Regions from separate parts of the Homo sapiens genome. Here region 2 is linked to region 1. Evidence: promoter capture Hi-C in human tissues and cell types (Jung and others, 2019). All regions are on one chromosome and are shown on one strand. Each heading gives the region's core, a stretch centred on a gene start or on the middle of the fragment in contact. The rest is flanking DNA. Distances are from core to core; before and after follow the strand shown. Region 1 holds the start of HIGD1C (HIG1 hypoxia inducible domain family member 1C). Region 2 overlaps ATF1 (activating transcription factor 1).

The links. Contacts are between HindIII fragments. The study calls those that stand out against the background at their distance.
Region 2: a fragment that was not itself captured here is called in contact with the fragment with the promoter of HIGD1C in region 1 in 1 of the 25 tissues and cell types used here (mesenchymal stem cells).

Annotation. Positions count from the first base shown.
Region 1 is chr12:50,950,106-50,954,415 of GRCh38, forward strand. It overlaps HIGD1C (HIG1 hypoxia inducible domain family member 1C), which reads left to right and starts at 2,439. Exons shown (of 5, transcript NM_001109619.4): 1 at 2,439-2,610; 2 at 3,100-3,154; 3 at 3,886-3,987. The coding sequence starts at 3,894. It also overlaps a transcript of SLC11A2 not described here. RefSeq lists an enhancer at 2,521-3,021. The HindIII fragment of the contact is 13,572 bases long and covers 1-4,310 here.
Region 2 is chr12:50,767,716-50,771,554 of GRCh38, forward strand. The region is part of intron 1 of ATF1 (activating transcription factor 1); the gene reads left to right. Among named protein-coding and RNA genes, the nearest start is that of ATF1, 5.5 kb to the left of the region's middle. RefSeq lists enhancers at 1,192-1,692, 1,693-2,193. The HindIII fragment of the contact is 6,244 bases long and covers 1-3,839 here.

The DNA.
Region 1 (4,310 bases), core at 1,189-3,688:
GGTGACAGGACCAAGGCACAGCCCCAGTGTAAACAGACATGGGTGCAGTCAAATGGGAGGGTCCAGGTACCAGTGCTGATGGGCCAGCGTCTTCAAGGGCCTACTTAACCTAGATGAGGATCAAACTACATGTGCTGCTGGGAGAAACAGTCTCTGCTGATACAGATATTGAATGAATAACAAAGGCAGAAGAGAAAAATCAAGCATGGAGTTTGAGGTTGGCCCATGTAAACTACAGAATAAAGCAAAAACCAGTTATTTTAAAATAAAATAAAATAAAAATAATCATAGTGATGGATTATAAGCCACTGAATAAAATAGGAATGCAAGAGTCCAAACTGATAAAAGATTAAATAGAGAAGAAAGAAAAGCTATTCCTCATTAGAATGCCTACTAATAAATGGTTGTTTGTTTTTGAGATGGAATTTCCCTCTGTCACCCAGACTGAGTGCAGTGGCGCAATCTTGGCTCGTTGCAACCTCCACCTCCTGAGTTCAAGCAATTCTCCTGCCTCAGCCTCCCCAAGTAGCTGGGATTACAGGCACGCACCATCATGCCCAGCTAATTTTTTTTTTTTTTTTTTTTTTTTGAGATGGAGTCTCATTCTGTCACCCAGGCTGGAGTGCAGTGGTGCCATCTCAGCTCAGTGCAACCTCCGCCTCCCAGATTCATGCCATTCTCCTGCCTCAGCCTCCCGAGTAGCTGGGACTACAGGCGCCTGCCACCACGCCCAGCTAATTTTTTTTGTATTTTTAGTAGAGATGAGGTTTCACCATGTTAGCCCGGCTGGTCTTGAACTCTTGACTTCAGGTGATCCACCTGCCTTGCTTGGCTTCCCAAAGTGCTGGGATTACAGGCATGAGCCACCGCGCCCGGCCATAAGTTTTTTTTTAAGGTGATATATTTAGAAAAACCACCATTTAGCAAACTAAAATTAATGGATTCAAGCAAGGATCATCAACAGACACTGAAATTAATGGGTAAAAGTCTGACAAATAACAGGATATTTGTATAATATTAAAGTACCTGTTCAGAAACTACTTATTAATTAAAAGGGAGAAAAAAAAGTAACCACAGTGGAGAACCAGGCAGACACCACGTTAATCCACATGATGAAAGCAGTGGTGTGCTAGAGCCCATTCCTACCAACCCAGGAAAGGGACATTTCCCAACTTTGTGTTCCGTGATGACAGACTCTATTTAGAAATTGGGCATGGTGGGAATATTTACAACACAGAATGGGGCAATGGCAAATGCCACAGAACAGGGCAATATCTCCCCCTCCAGAGCCAGTTGAGTTGTTAAACATTTGTCAGCACCACACTGGATCAAAGTTAACTACCACCAGGCAATTCAACTTTCTGTGTCTCCTGATATTTCACACTAAGAAGAGCACAACATCATTTTTGTCATATTCTGCCCAAAATGTATGACCTCAATCTAGTGAGAAAACATGAGTTGGGGGAGGGGACGGGAACACAGGATTAGATTGAGAGGCATCCTACAAAATAACTGGCAAAACATCAAGGTCGGCTGGGCGCGGTGGCTCACACCTGTAATTTCAGCACTTTTGGGAGGCCAAGGTGGGTGGATCACCTGAGATCAGGGGTTTGAGACCAGCCCGACCAACATTGTGAAACAAAATCTCTACTAAAAATACAAAAAAATTAGCCGGGCGTGGTGTGGCGCTTCTATAGTCCTAGCTACTCGGGAGGCTGAGGCAGGAGAATTGCTTGAACCAAGGAGACAGAGGTTGCAGTGAGCCAAGATTGCGCCATCACACTCCAGCCAGGGTGACAAGAGCGAAACTCCATCTCAAAAAAAAAAAAAAAGAAAAAAAAATCAAGGTCAAGACAGACAAAGATGATTAGGAAGGTGTTTCAGACTAAAGGAGACTAAAGAAACAGGACAACTAAATGCAATATATGATCCTAATTGGATGCTAGACCAGAAATTTTTTTTTTTTTTTTTTTTTGCTATTAAGGACATAATTGGGACAACTGGTGAATATGAATAAAATCTTTAGATTGAAAAACAGAATTATATCAATGTTAAGTTTCTGATTTTGAACACTGTACTATGGTTATATAATAAAAGAATGCCCCAAATGCATACAAAAGTATATGGAAGAAAAGGCATAAGTCTGCTACTGTCAGGTGGTTCGCCAAAAATATTTTTTAAAGAAAGAAACATGTTAATAAAGGAAAATGCGGGTACCAGACACACAGTTCTTTGTACTATTCTGGGGACTTTTCTATAAGTCTGAAATTATTTAAACATTAAGTTACAAGGGAAAAACCATGAACGCTACCTGATCCTCTGCCCTCATCTCTAGGTCCACATGGCTGCAGTCGGAGGGAGGCGGTGAGCAAGGTGTTCTCCAAGGTCTCAAGGGGCCCCAAGGCTACAAGGTCAGAACAGAAGCAAAGGCCACGTCCACCACCGACCCACCTCAAGAGCCACAGCCTCTCGGGTCTCCACAGCCCCACTCAGGTCTCACACACAGGCGCAGGGACTAGCCACAGGTGCAGCAACGTCACGTCTTTCCCCTGGGCGCGTGTGCAGCTCGAGGCTTTGCAGGAGGCGCACCTGCGATGGCCTTACCGCCAGGTGAGCCCGGCGGGCTCTCATCGCCTCAGCCGGAGATTCCAACTGCAGGGAGCGCACCTCCTCTGGCTAGGGCGTGTTTCCGAAGGATGGCAAGAATCCTGGCCTCTGATGGCTATCTTCTCCCCTTCCCCTCCAAGCCCAGTGTTGTGACCCTGTGCCCTCTTTCCCCTCAATTTTGGGCCCAGGAGTCAGGTACTAAGACTCAACAGTCACAGAGGGAAGTCAGGAGCTCCCTTGTGAAGGCAGACTTAAGCAAATGCATCTTCTTCCAAAGCCTTCATGTTTTTCTTAATGTTGGCTTCAAAAGCCTAGTTTGTGGCCCAGGCTGCTACTGGTGAGTTTCTAGCAGGGTGCTGGAAATCTTGGCCAATACCAGCCGACCACTCCCCCAGTCCCCTGGGGCGTGTTTCTGGGCTTTCCCATTATCAATTAGTTGGAAATTGCACATCGTGTCCTGGCCTTACAACAAACACCTGTTCTGATCTACAGCCTCTTGCTGAAGGAACAACAGGAGACAGACAGCAGGTGGCGGGGTGTGCCACAGGTATTGTGCTTCTTACGCTTAAGTTTTCTGATGAAGTCTCATTCATAGGATGAAGCCGCTGTATTTGAATTCTGGGGTGAACACAATAAGCTGCACAGGGAACAGACTCAGGCGCTGCTAAATCTGTTGTGATTATAGTTGCTTTTGCAAGTTTCTTCATTCATCCTATGTAGACAAGCCAGGCTAGACAAGGAATCCATTGTCTAGCATAGCAACTGGCACACAGTAGGTGCTTGGTAAATATCTGAATGACTTTATAATGCCCTGCACATTCTGCAGAGTTGAAGTGATCATTCTCCCAATACCTGTAAATCTGGAAGTATTTTTGCCTATGTTGGCACTGCCATACTTCTTTAAAATGATACTTTAAAAAGAAAATGTGTTCTTCAAATACAGTGCTTGTGGAAGAAGTCCTGAGGTTCCCAGTGATCTCAAATGCTGAGCAGTGGAAAGGAGACTGAATAACAGCATTATGATCTGTGTTTTTACTCTGTATTCATGAAATCTGATTATCATTTCCTCTATGTATTTTTTTCTTATCCCCTTCCCCTGCAAAATGAAAAAATTCGGTAGTGAAAAGTGTGAAGGAAAGACAATTGTTTCAGTTGAGCAGATAGGCTTATCAAACAAATGAAAACAAAAAAACACATAATCAAGAGTATGATGGGAGAGGAAAAACAAATTATTTTTAATGATTCACGGCAACCACATTTATATCCTATTGTTACTAGAGAAAAAAATGTCTTCAGATAACCAGTGGTCAGCAGATGAGGATGAAGGCCAATTATCCCGACTAATCAGGAAATCTAGAGACTCCCCCTTTGTCCCTATAGGTAAGTACAAGCCTTGACTGGATGCAGAAAACTGTAATAACACAATGATGCCTTACCCAGTGCCTTTGCGGATTGAAATGTTTCTTATAATTGAATTTTTTCAGATAATTGAAGCTAACCTCCTCTAAGCATGTGTTGAACTTTCAGAATAGTTCCTAATACATGGTAAGCCCCCAGTAAATGTTAGCTGTTATTTGAGGCATCAAATTTTATTCTATTTTATCCATTTCATTAGAAGTCTACCTAAAATTATTAGTTCCTAGCCAGTCAAATGGAATAGATTGAATGAATATTAACATTTCAGTCATAACTCAGGACCATCA
Region 2 (3,839 bases), core at 847-3,346, 180 kb before region 1:
GAACAGGAATTTCAGGATTCATGTCATAGTTAGCTCTAAAAATAATATTAAATAGTTAAAAGCCCTTATAAGCTCAAAATTAACTACTCTAGACTCCTTCTGGGAAGGTCAACAGAGACTGCCCTGTGCTGTAGCTCAGTAGCTAAGCTTTTGCACTTTCTTTTTTTTTTTTTTTGAGATGGAGTCTTGCTCTGTCGCCCAGGCTGGAGTGCAGTGGTGCGATCTCAGCTCACTGCAACCTCCGCCTCCCGAGTTCAAGTGATTTGCCTGCGTCATCTTCCCAAGTAGCTGGGATTACAGGTGTGTGCCACTACGCCCAGCTAATTTTTGTATTTTTAGTAGAGATGGGGTTTCATCATATTGGGCAGGCTGGTCTCGAACTCCTGACCTCAGGTGATCCACCTGCCTCAGCCTCCTAAACTGATGGGATTACAGGCATGAGCCACCGCACCCAGCCAGCTTTTGCACTTCCGTGGCAACAGTCCAGGTTCAATTACCCACCTAGGAAGTAAGTCGTTTCTGGTTTAATATCTGCATGACTTTGTCTATTCTCTTCTCCTCTGTGAACTGTCTTATATTTTCCTTTTTCTAAGCACCTGGGAGGTTACCTTTGATAAAATTCAAAAGCCAGAAATACCAGCCGTTTGGCATAAAAACTTCTAAAAGGACTTTATTAAAGAGTGCTATGGTTAAAATAAGTTTAATTAAAAGTGGATATTCAAGCTCTAACAGCCTGGACTCCTTGGGAAAAACAAGAGGCACCAGAGACCCCTTTCGTGGCCCTGTTCTTCCAAGGGCTCCACCCTGAAGCCGGTAATCCAATTAAGAAACTTAAAAACTGGCAAATGAAAAATCTTACAACCACTGTTATCATCATCATCTGTCTTTCTGTGTAGCTATATAGGTGTCGTGTGTAATATTTATATAAAAGAGCTCTGATTAATCAGCTTAAACAAAAATAAACATTTAAATCAAATATTTTGAAAGCAAAATAACTAATGCCTTTTAGTTCATGTAACTTTAGTAATCTTTAGGAAATAAACACATCTTTAAAATTGATAAAAATGTTAATCTTAATTATGCAGGTCAGATATTAAGTTTGTTAAATGATTTGAGGTCATAAACTGTTTCTTTGACTTTTAAAAATTGTTCAATTTACCCTACCTTAAAGCCATTAGATTCTAGATAAGGCCTGGGGACATGTGGAGTTAGCCACGCCCCTAAGCTGTGCTGGAGAGTCAGCTCTTATCTGCACTTCTGCCTGGTGTGTCCTAGGCTAGGCTCCACACCTAGTACATAATTAAAATTGCTTACTAACCAGGGTTTTCACCAAAAGTAAAAGTCGCTAAAAGTTAAAATTGGAACATGTAACTGAGACTATTGAAGAGACAGTTTTACATGTAAGGTGTGTAGTAAGGAAAATAGAATGTACTTTTGGTAAAAGATTATAAGAAGGCATGGAAATGTGGGGTTTTTTGGCTAAAGAGTTAAATAATTATTCTAAGTTGGCCGGGCACAGTGGCTCAAACCTGTAATCCCAGCACTTAGGGAGGTCGAGGCAGATGGATCACCTGAGGTTAGGAGTTTGAGACCAGTCTGGCCAACATGGTGAAACCCCATCTCTATCAAAAAATACAAAAGTTAGCCGGGCATGGTGGCGCACACCTGTAGTCACAGCTACTCGAGGCTGAGGCAGGAGAAGCGCTTGAACCTGGGAGGGGGAGGTTGCAGTGATCTGAGATTGCACCACTGCACTCTATCCAGCCTGGGTGACAGAGCGAGACTCCATCTCAAAAAAAAAAAAAATTCATACAGGAAGCATTATCAAATGTCAAATGGTGTTTTGCTTTCTTTGGATTATATTTACATAACTGTATTATTGGTATATGTTCCAAAGTTATGGGAAACTCCTATAATTCTAATATGATTTAGTGTATGTTATTAATAATTATAATTGTTATGCAAAATATTGTGTGCCACAGAAGTAACCAAATTTCCTTATCATTTCTGGCTTTAATAGTGGCTCTCCTAAAACTTTTTATCATCCACAGACAATTGTTGTCTTGTTTTAATCCTGTTTAGAAGATGATTTATAATCAGCTATAGAACTCTAGCAGGTGTTCTTAAATGCAGGTTTCTAATAACTTTGGAAATTGTAACATTAGAATAGAGGAAACAACTTTCAGAACTCATGAAGAGCTAGAATGTTCATGAATATCAAATGAAACATGAGTTAATTGAATCAACTGAACCAATAGAAAACTGAAGTAATCTTTGATTAAAATGTTGCTGATCCTTTGTTTTGTTTTTCAGAGTCAAGGAAACTTTTCATTTGAGCTATTTACAGTTCATAGCAATTGAGTAAAGTATACTGCTGTGAACGAAATTTGGAACATATTTGTTTCTCTATATCAGATTTCTCCAGAATTTGGAAACTAGTTGTGAGTATTCTTAACTTATGGCAATGTAATTATTTGCATAAGTGCAATAAGAATCTGTTTTCTTTTGTAACAGAATACAATTGGAGAAAGTGGTTATTTTACCAAGGCTTTGACTGAAATGGTGTGCTTTTCTTTAAGGAATCAAACTTGACTTGTAGAGCCAATAAAAGCCCTTTGGGGAACTGGCCTCATACCTTGCCTACACAGTGCCTGTACAGGGTTTCTGACCTATGGTAAGTAAAGAATGTCACTTTCTCACCTGTCCAGGAGCCCCAAGTTATCTTGGGACCTCAAAAGGAGAGAAATTTACCCAAGTTATAGGTATTTAAGGGTACAAACCCATGTCAGGGCTTGGCTTTTAAAAAAGTCTTATCTGAGATTCCTTATGAAACAGAGTTCCATCAAAGCCAATTAAAAAGCCTATGTGAAAAATTATTATTCTTGCTGCACTTTATACAAACAATCAGGCCAAGTATAATAAAGCAAGTCAGTCTTACCATAATTTGTCTTTAGTAAAAATGGGAAACTGGAGAGAGAAATACTATGTTTCAAAAACTATGGTACACTTGTTATTAAATTCTGGTCTCATTAATTGTTTTTAAGTTTGTTTCTGCAATTTAGGCTAACCCTGCGTATTCTTGTAAACCAACCAGTAATCTCTAATTGTTGCTCAGAAGAAATAAGAGGGATGGGTAATTTAAAAATCTGGATCAGTATTCTGATTCTGGGCACATTACAATCAGCTAACAACCCGATATCAGCTTAGTTCCAGTGGTTGCCTGGTTCATGAAAAGTCTTCTAATTTAGTTTATTTGGAATAACTTTACTTATTTTGCTTTACTCTTTTTTTTTTCTTTCTTTCTTTTTGAGACAGAGTCTTGTTCTGTCGCCCAGGCTGGACTGCAGTGACACCATCTTGGCTCACTGCAGCCTCCGCCTCCTGGGTTCAAGTGATTCTCCTGCCTCAGCCTCCCAAGTAGCTAGAATTACAGGCACACATCACAACGCCCAGCTGACTTTTATATTTTTAGTAGAGATAGGGTTTCACCATGTTGGCCAGGCTGGCCTCGAACTCCTGACCTCAGGTAATCCACCTGCCTCGGCCTCCCAAAGTGCTGGATTACAGGTGTGAGCCACTGTACCCAGCCTATTTTGCTTTACTCTTGTGGAATATATTGCTGTTATACTTTTTGTGTAGGAATACAGGACAAGCTTACTGAACGTTTTCTTACTAATTTTCCAGATACCACCTTTTGTTGAAACTTGAGTTATGAATGAACCTTACCATACTGATGCTTTCTGACTGAGCTCCTTTTTACCCTGAATGCAAGAGACCCTCATAGGCAGGCAGGAATATCATTGCCCTATTTAGCCTGAAGAAGTTATAGAAGATGGATC